2 separate regions of the Homo sapiens genome follow, and region 1 is linked to region 2. The links are contacts of gene promoters, found by promoter capture Hi-C in human tissues and cell types (Jung and others, 2019). All regions are on one chromosome and are shown on one strand. Each heading gives the region's core, a stretch centred on a gene start or on the middle of the fragment in contact. The rest is flanking DNA. Distances are from core to core; before and after follow the strand shown.

Region 1 (4,585 bases), core at 1,026-3,525, 2.0 Mb after region 2:
CTGACTCAGCCTCCCGAGCAGCTGGGATTATAGGCATGTGCCATCATGCCCGGCTAATTTTTTATTTTTAGTAGGGACAGGGTTTCTCCATGTTGGTCAGGTCACCTGAACTCCTGACCTCAGGTGATCCACCTGCCTGGGACTCCCAAAGTGCTGGGATTACAGGCGTGAGCCACTGCACCTGGCCTTTTTTTTTTTGAGATGGAGTTTTGCTTTGTCGCCCAGGCTGGGGTACAGTGGCACAATCTTGGCTCACTGCAACCTCCGCCTCCTGGATTCAAGTGATTTTCCTGCCTCAGCCTCCCAAGTAACTGGGATTACAGGCGTGCACCACCATGCCTGGCTAATTTTTATATTTTTAGTAGAGATGGGCTTCCACCATTTGGCCAGGCTGATCTCAAGCTCCTGACCTCAGGTGGTCCGCCCACCTCAGCCTTCCAAAGTGCTGCGATTACAAGAGTGAGCCACTGTGCCCGGCCATTCTTTTCTAGATAATATATTAAACAGTATAAATAATTAGACTCAGCAGATGCTAGTAAAGCTTTATTATCAGATCCCAAAGGGTATCCTTTTAGTCTTTGTCATTAATAACATTATCTTTTAATCAGATTCTCCAATTGAGCATGACATGATTGGTTTTTTTATGTTTTGAAGTAGGAAATACTTTTTTTTTTTTTTTTTTCTGAGACAGAGTCTTGCTGTGTCGCCCAGGCTGGAGTGCAGTGGTGTGATCTCAGCTTACTCCAATCTCCGCCTCCCGGGTTCAAGCAATTCTCCTGCTTCAGCCTTCTGAGTAGCTGGGATTACAGGTGTGCACCACCACACCTGGCTAATTTTTGTATTTTTAGTAGAGATGGGGTTTCACCATGTCACGCTGGTCTTGAACTCCTGACCTCAAGTGATCCACCTGCCTCGGCCCACCAAAGTGCTGGGATTACAGGTGTGAGCCACCATGCCCAGCCAGAAATGCTTTTAAATACAAGTGTTCAATTGAAAATTAATAAGTAGCCTCACCAAACCTAAAATGGAGATTAAGTTCAATAAAGAGAACAAATTTTTAGTAGACCCAAATATATGATTTCATATCATAATTAATAGAGTAGTACTTTATTTCAGAAAAGAGGAGGTGAACAGCTGGATTTCCTCACTAGATACACTGTCTCTAACCTGCTGTAGAAACATTCTCCTTTAGATCATTTGAAGCTAGGAATTCAGGACTAGCCTGGAAACATAGTAAGACTCTGTCTGTCTCTACAAAAAAACGCACTAACAAATTAGTTGGGCATGGTGGTACCCGCCTGTAGTCCCTGCTACCCAAGAGGCTGAGATGGAAAAATTGTTTGAGGCAGGAGGTTGAGGCTGCAGTGAACCATGATCATACTACTGCACTCCATCCTAGGCGACAGAGTGAGACCCTGATTCTTGAAAAAAAGAAAGGAAGAAAGAAAATAAACATTCTCCTTTAATTGTTAGTTCTCTCCTTCACACTGTTAAAACCCTGAATGGGCCAGGCATGGTGGCTGACGCCTGCAATCCCAGCACTTTGGGAGGCCAAGGCGGGTAGATCATTTGAGGTCAGGAGTTTGAGACCAGGCTGGCCAACATGGTAAGACCCCCATCTCTACTAAAAATACAAAAATTAGCTGGGCATGGTGCCGCATGCCTGTAATCTCAGCTATTTGGGAGGCTGAGGTAGGAGAATTTCTCGAACCTGGGAGGCGGAGGTTGCAGTGAGCCGAGATCACACCACTGCACTCCAGCCTGGATGACAGTGAGATATGTCTCAAAAAAAAAAAAAAAAATCGGGCCGGGGGCAGTGGCTCATACCTGTAATCCCAGCACTTTGGGAGGCTGAGGTGGGCGGATCACAAGGTCAGGAGATCAAGACCATCCTGGCTAACATGGTGAAACCCAGTCTCTACTAAAAATACAAAAAAAAATTAGCCGGGTGTGGTGGACGGCACCTGTATCTCAGCTACTTGGGAGGCTAAGGCAGGAGAATGACGTGAACCCGGGAGGCGGATCATGCAGTGAGCTGAGATCACGCCACTGCACTCCAACCTGGGTGACAGAGCGAGACTCTGCCTCAAAAAAAAAAAATCGCTGAATGGTATAGCAAATCATCAAACTAAATTAGTAAACTTCAGAATGCAGTCTTTTGAAGGATATTTAAAACCTTGCAGTCACAAATAAAGGAGAGATAACTTGTCATGGTAGAGAACAAAATCAAAAGACAAGCAAGAAAAAAGCCAGCAGCAGTTGAAATTTAAAATAAAATTATGAGATAATAAGGCAAGGAAGAATGAAAAATGAATCCCGGGCCGGGCGCAGAGGCTCACGCCTGTAATCCCGGCACTTTGGGCAGATCACCTGAGGTCAGGAATTCGAGACCATGCTGGCCAACATGGTGAAACCTTGTCTCCACTAAACATACAAAAATTAGCCGGGCATGGTGGCAGGCACCTGTCGTCCCAGCTACTCAGGAGGCTGAGGCAGGAGAATCACTTGAACCCAGGAGGCAGAGCTTGCAGTGAGCTGAGATCACACCACTGCACTCCAGCCTGGGCGACACAGCGAGACTCTGTCTCCAAAAAAAAAAAAAAGGGTATCAAAAATCTTTTGGCTGGGGCCGGGCATGATGGCTCACATCTATAACCCCAGCACTTTGGGAGGCCAAGGCAGGTGTATCACCTGAGGTCAGGAGTTCAAGACCAGCCTGGGCGACCTGATGAAACCTCATCTCTACTAAAAATACAAAAAATTAGCCGGGCGTGGGGGTGGGCGTCTATAATCCCAGCTACTCGGGAGGCTGAGACAGGAGAATCACTTGAACCCGGGAGGTGGAGAATGCAGTGAGCCAAGATCGTGCCAGTGCACTCCAGCCTCAGTGACAGAGGGAGACTCCTTCTAAAAAAAAAAAAAAAAAAGGACCAGGCGCAGTGGCCCACGCCTGTAATCCCAGCACTTTGGGAGGCCGAGGTGGGCGGATCACCTGAGGTCAGGAGTTCAAGACCAGCCTGGCCAACATGGTGAAACCCCATCTCTACTAAAAATACAAAAATTAGCCAAGCGTGGTGATGGGTGCCTGTAGTCCCAGCTACTCAAGAGGCTGAGGTGGGAGAATCTCTTGAACCCAGGAGGTGGAAATTGTAGTGAGCCGAGATTGCGCCACTGCACTCCAGCCTGGGTGACAGAGCAAGACTCCGTCTCAAAAAAAAAAAAAAAAAAAAAATTGGCTAGGCATGGTGGCTCACGCCTGTAATCCCAGCACTTTGGGAGGCCGAGGCAGATGGATTGGTTGAATTCTCAGGAATTTGAGTCCAGCCTGGTCTCGAACATGGCGAGACCCAAAGTCAGGTGATAGAACCAAAGAACTAGGGAACTTCTAGCTCAAAAGGCATTATGTTAGTTGTGATTTTTTTTTTTTTTTTTTTTTTTTTTTGAGACAGAGTTTTGTTCTATTGCCCAGGCTGGAGCGCTGTGGTGCAATCTCGACCCACTGCAACCTCTGCCTCCTGTGTTCAAGCGATTCTCCCGAGTAGCTGGGATTACAGGCACCTGCCACCATGCCTGGCTAATTTTTGTGTCTTTAGTAGAGACAGGATTTCACGATGTTGGCTAGGCTGGTCTCAAACTCCTGACCTCATGATCCACCCGCCTTGGCATCCCAAAGTGCTGGGATTACAGGCATAAGCCACCGTGCCCAGCCCTTTTTGTTTTTTTAATTACGATTTAATACTAATTTTTATTTAATTTTAGACTTTCTCCAGTGGGAGAGACCTGTGCATATTTCTTAAAGAGCATAACCAAATCTAACTTTTAAAGTTATGATTAAAATGACATGTTCCCATATTCTCACCAAATAGGGGATGTGAATTCCCAGAAAATAACATTAAGCATATGACTCGCAGCAAACCATATGCAGAACATTGGCTCATTGTCATGTTGCCAGGGTCTTATTGGAAGACAAAGTCCCCAGTTTTACCACACAAGAAAAGTTTCCATAACTCAATCATTGAACTTGAGGGCTGGGGGATGGTGTTGGCTGGAACAGGGACTTTTTACCAGATACAGAATGTTCCATGCTCTTCTTTGCTGTCTCCTATTTCTGAGCTAACTTGATGCTTGACCTCAGAGTCAGGCTTGCCTGTGGCAAGAGAGATCATTTTAACCAGTGAGTAATAAAGTGCTTGAATCCGAATGTTGTTTCTTATCCCTCACTCTATGGAAAGTGGTCAGAATGAGCTACGTGGGCCTGGACTTTTTCTTCTACAGAAAGAAAATCTGTCCTTTCATTTTAGAGGATAAAATGGTCCATGTATTTGATTCTCTTTGACTTTGATCATTGAAAATAATCAGAAAAAGTTATGGAAGTGTGGAACCCCAGCATTTGTATTATCTGATGAAAGGATAGAATTTAAGGCTTAACACAGGGTTTAAACCCCAGCTGCCGAGACTCAGTTATACAGTCTAACATAACCTCTTTCTGCAGCTTGGGAAAACCCCTTTCTCTTCTTGTCCGTGGTAGTTTATATATCCTTCTCTTTTGACAGTTAACCTTTCTATATGTTTGTTATGGATATTG
Region 2 (4,523 bases), core at 459-2,958:
AAAGAGAAAAGGGATGCTAAAAAAAAATAAAGAACACATGATTTTCCTTCAAATTCCTAGTGATTGTCTCTCTCTGTCGCCCAGGCTGGAGTGCAGTGGTGGGATCTCGGCTCACTGCAACCTCCACCTCCCAGGTTCAAGCAATTCTCCTGTCTCAGCCTTCCGAGTAGCTGGGACTACAAGCACCCACCACCATGCCCGGCTAATTTTTGTATTTTTAGTAGAGACGGGGTTTCACCATGTTGGTCTGACTGGTCTCGAACTCCTGACTTCAGGTGATCCGCCCGCCTTGGCCTCCCAAAGTGTTGGGATTACAGGCGTGAGCCACCGCACCCGGCCTCTCTTAGACTTTCAAGCATCCTTTCATCTGAGTGGCTTCAAAGAGCCGGACTACTAGATCCACAGACCACGTTCCTCCTATCTCCACTCGTGGAGAAGGCCGGCATAATGATCACCATAAGCTTGGAGTCAGAGATGTGATTCCCAGATCTGCCACCCTCCTATATATTTAGTAATTACAAGAAGTTAGCTAATTTCCTTGAGCTTCGCAGTCTCCTTGAATAAAATGGAAACAAGAATGCCTTCCTTACAAGTTAGAGTAAGGCCTTTAGAGAATGAGATAATGCTTGCAAAGAGCTTAGTACAGTGCCTGGCCCAAAGCAGATGCCCAGAAACATGCGGCTATAATTGCAATGATCTTTCGGTTGCTGGGCTCCAGATTCCACTTTTCAGAACTTCAGTTTCACTATGAGGAAGGGGTGCTGCCTCCCTAATTTGGCTAGATAAGCCTTCTCCACAGGGCAAACCCCTGACTCAATTTCATGTTTGAATTCCCAGACTGCTACCGAAACCTTCCCTTCTGAAGTTCTGTTGCCTCCTGTCCACTACAGGGCTGAGCACTCACGCTCTAATCCGATCCTCGTGGTACCAGATGTCTTGGATGGGAGCTTTGGCTTTGCCATATCGCACTCGAGGCCTTTGGAAGACGGGCTCCCTCAGCGGGGGAAAGGCGTCATATACGTCAAACCACAGGGGCTTCTCCTTCAGCACCCCGGCCCGAACCAGGTCCCGAGTCCTTAGGGAGGGAACAGAACGAAACTGGGTCACTTGCAGTAGCCTGCCAAAGCCCCTGAATCAGTCTAGCACAGTTTGGGACATTAAAGGTATTATGCGGTCTGCAACACAGAACGGGGAAGGACTGCTCCCCACCTACAGAGAAGATCTGTCCACATCCCAAACCAAACTTAACAACGCTCAGGAGAGTTAAATCCCTCTATCTTCTTTTGTGCGTCCCACCCACGTTCGGTCACGGAAAAATGCAAAGAGCGGTCTTGCATGACCTGATAAGGAAGGCCCATCAGGCTCTTCCTCCCTTCCTCTTCCTAGAGACCTCCACTCGGGGAGAGGCAGCTGCAATAATCTTTAACATGACACATAAATTCAAGGAGAGGCATCCTCAGGCACAACTATTCGGAGCCAGGAGAAAACATGAGAGGGCCTCACCCAGCTCAGCCCCCGCACCCTGCAATACGCCTCGCCCTGCTCAGGTCCGCTCCAAGGAAGAGCGTGACCGGCTGAGAACCCCAGCCTGGGGGAGGCACCCTCAGCCCACCACGGCTGGGAGCACACACCGAGAGAAGATGCTCCCTACGGTTTCCAGCCGGCTGCCTGCCATGATCTGCGCCTGGTACCGAGCGTGACTAGCTGCTACCGGAACCGGAAGCGGCTGCTCCAGGTAAAGGGCGCATAAGTTGCTGGCCGAGCCAAGGATCGCTGGGCTTTCACCGCAGCCCCTGCGGGAGAGCGGCGCAGGCAGAAGCAAGTGATAGGCCGAACGGGCGCGCTCCGAGGTTACTTGCCAGGTTCAGGCAGGAGCACTCGATAGCCGAGCCAAAAGGGCAGGAGCGAGCCAAAGCCGGACAGAAGTAATAAATGACCGAGCTGTGGGAGGGATTCATCATGATGGTTGCTTTACTCTCTCTCGCCTTGTTGAGCCAACTCCTCTGAAAAGGTGGGGCCGCGCGGAGGAGAAGTAGTGGGGCAGAGCAGGGGTGAAGCGCAGCCTACAGTCCTAGGGGAGCCAACAAAGGCCGAGATTTGAGGTCACCAGCTCTAGGCCCAGGCTGAGCCTAATGTTGTTTAGAGTCACAGACTACGCAGAAGAAAACCAAGGCCGGGGAGGGGCCGTCACTTGCCCAGCGTCGTGCTAGATCTCGGGCCTCCGCCTCTGGCTGTGTAGTGCTCCCCACTAAGCCCCTCGTCCCCGGAGTGCCACCTGCATCCACGCTAACTAGGATGCTGGCTGCAACTCGTGTTTCCCGCGGCCGGTGTCGCGGGCTACCTCCTCCTTGGAACTCGAAAAGTGAAAGTGTCCGGAACAAACAGACGCCGAGAGGGAAACGAAAAAATCTGGAGAAAGTCATCTCTCAGTGTTAAACTGTAAAAAAATATAAACTGTGTGTAGCATACCCTTTGACCCAGTAATCATATTTCGGGGAAAGAACCCCTTAGAAATTAAAGCATCAATTCATGAGGATGTTTGTGCAAGGATCATCGTTGCAGCATTGTTTGTAGTGGGAAAAAAAATCCATCAGATGAGAAATAGCTGGAAAATTATTGTTCATACTTTCTTTGGAACCCTATGCAGCTATTAAAATGAATGAGCTAGATCCACATGTATTTACCAAGGTTAAGGTACATGACTTATGTTTAAATGAAAAACGAAGTTGCAAAGAAACATGTTTAGTGGAATCTCAACGTGTTAGAAAAAAAAAAGGAAAAAGAAACACCTCTATATATGTTTGTGTTTGAGGATAGAAATTCTGCAGAAGGACACCCAAGGCTGTGAACATTGGATATCTCGGAGTGAAACTGCAGGCAGGCAAGGGAGAATTTTTTCTTCCTTTACACATGCTTCAGAGTTTGACTTGTAAAGAGATTGTATTCATATTTGAACTTTTAATCCAATGAATGTTTTGAATCACACACAATGTCTCCTGGGAGCCTAGTCAAGTCATCCTAGAGTCCTCCCACTCTGAGGCTGGTGAAGGGGAGGACGGGACTGTTTGATGAGTAGTTACTGCTTGTGTGTGTTATCTTACTGAATCCACATACCTTCCCATAAGGTAGCTATTAACATCCTCATTATAGATGAGAAAGCAAGGCCTCAGGAAGTTACATAACTTGTCTGATAAGCAACTGATAGAGCCAGCCTTGGGGGGGTGGGGCAGCCAGGGCCCTTTCCAGTGCCTCACAATGCCGCCTAAGCTATGCCTAAAGCTCGAGGCTGGTAGGCTCAAGAGTCCAGCAGAACGCCGCTCCCCACCCGCCCCCCCCACAACACACACACACACACACACACACACACACACACACACGCACGCCAGGGATCCAGTGATTTGAGGCCCAGGGCTAACCTGAGGTGGATTTCACTGCTGCCTCCAGACCCTCTGGAACAGAGAAGAGAGAGCACAGCTCTGGCCCCAGGCCAGGTGTAAAGGCTCTAGTATCCCAGCCCTCAGGAGGTCTAAAAGACCTTGCTCTGGGGAGAGTAAACATGCTCCCAGCTAAATATAGTCTTCCCAGGCCTCATAACAACTTTCTAATTCTGTCCCAGCCAGCAAGCACTATCTGCCAGCCCAGATTACAGGCACACTTCTCTTCTCCCACCAGGAACTGCTACTGTAGGTTAGTGCAGTCACTGCAGCTAAAGAGTTAAAGGGTTTATTCCAAGATCAAGGAGGGGAACCAAAGACGCAAACCCTCAATAGGGGAAGAACTGCAAGGCAGAAATGTTCTCGCTAATCTTGGGGTGGTCCCTTCCTCTTCCAAGCCTTTGAAGTTTCCCTTTCCAGCCTGCTTCTGTGACTGAGAGCAGAATATTGGTGGGCAGACTTGGGGGTACTTTGGGGATAACAGCCTTCTGAGGCTACACAAGAAGTACACACCCAAGAAACATTCATTCATAATACAGGAGCAAGCTGTCGGGCAGCAGGGGGCAGGCAGAATGGACATTTGAGGCTGTCTTCTTGAGTGGGGACCACAGCCGCCCAAGGCTGTGAGGGCCTGGGGCACTTACACCACGCACCACTGTGCCGCGGGAGGTACCAAGGAACCTCAAGTGTCTCATTCAGTTGTTCAACCACCTGCTGACATAGGTAATGTCCTGCTAATCTTACAGATAAGGAAGTGGTGCTTGTAAACTCCCAAAGGCCATGTTCCTACAACACCACTCGGCCTCATATTAATCCCACTGTCTCATTGTAGACGTGCCCACTAATTGCTTCACTCTGAGCAAGTTATGTAACTTTTCGAGCCTCTGTTTCTCCAACTGTTAAAATGTGGAGCTGGGCTCAGTGGCTCATGCTTGTAATCCCAACATTTTGGGAGGCCAGTGTGGGAGGATTGCTTAAGCCAGGAGATCAAAACCAGCCTGGGCAAAATTAGCCAGGTGTGGTGGTGCATGCCTGTAATCCCAGCTACTCAGGGGACTGAGGTGGGAGGATGGCCTGAGCCCAGGAGTT

What was found. Contacts are between HindIII fragments. The study calls those that stand out against the background at their distance.
Region 1: a contact is called between a fragment that was not itself captured here and the fragment with the promoter of MRPS23 in region 2, in 1 of the 25 tissues and cell types used here (aorta).

The regions. Positions count from the first base shown.
Region 1 is chr17:59,821,663-59,826,247 of GRCh38, forward strand. All of the region lies in intron 10 of VMP1 (vacuole membrane protein 1), which reads left to right. Among named protein-coding and RNA genes, the nearest start is that of MIR21, 17 kb to the right of the region's middle. The HindIII fragment of the contact is 4,753 bases long and covers 1-4,585 here.
Region 2 is chr17:57,848,336-57,852,858 of GRCh38, forward strand. It overlaps MRPS23 (mitochondrial ribosomal protein S23), which reads right to left and starts at 1,709. Exons shown (of 5, transcript NM_016070.4): 1 at 1,632-1,709; 2 at 905-1,075. The coding sequence starts at 1,675. RefSeq lists enhancers at 1,690-2,019, 1,695-2,204. The HindIII fragment of the contact is 5,598 bases long and covers 1-3,813 here.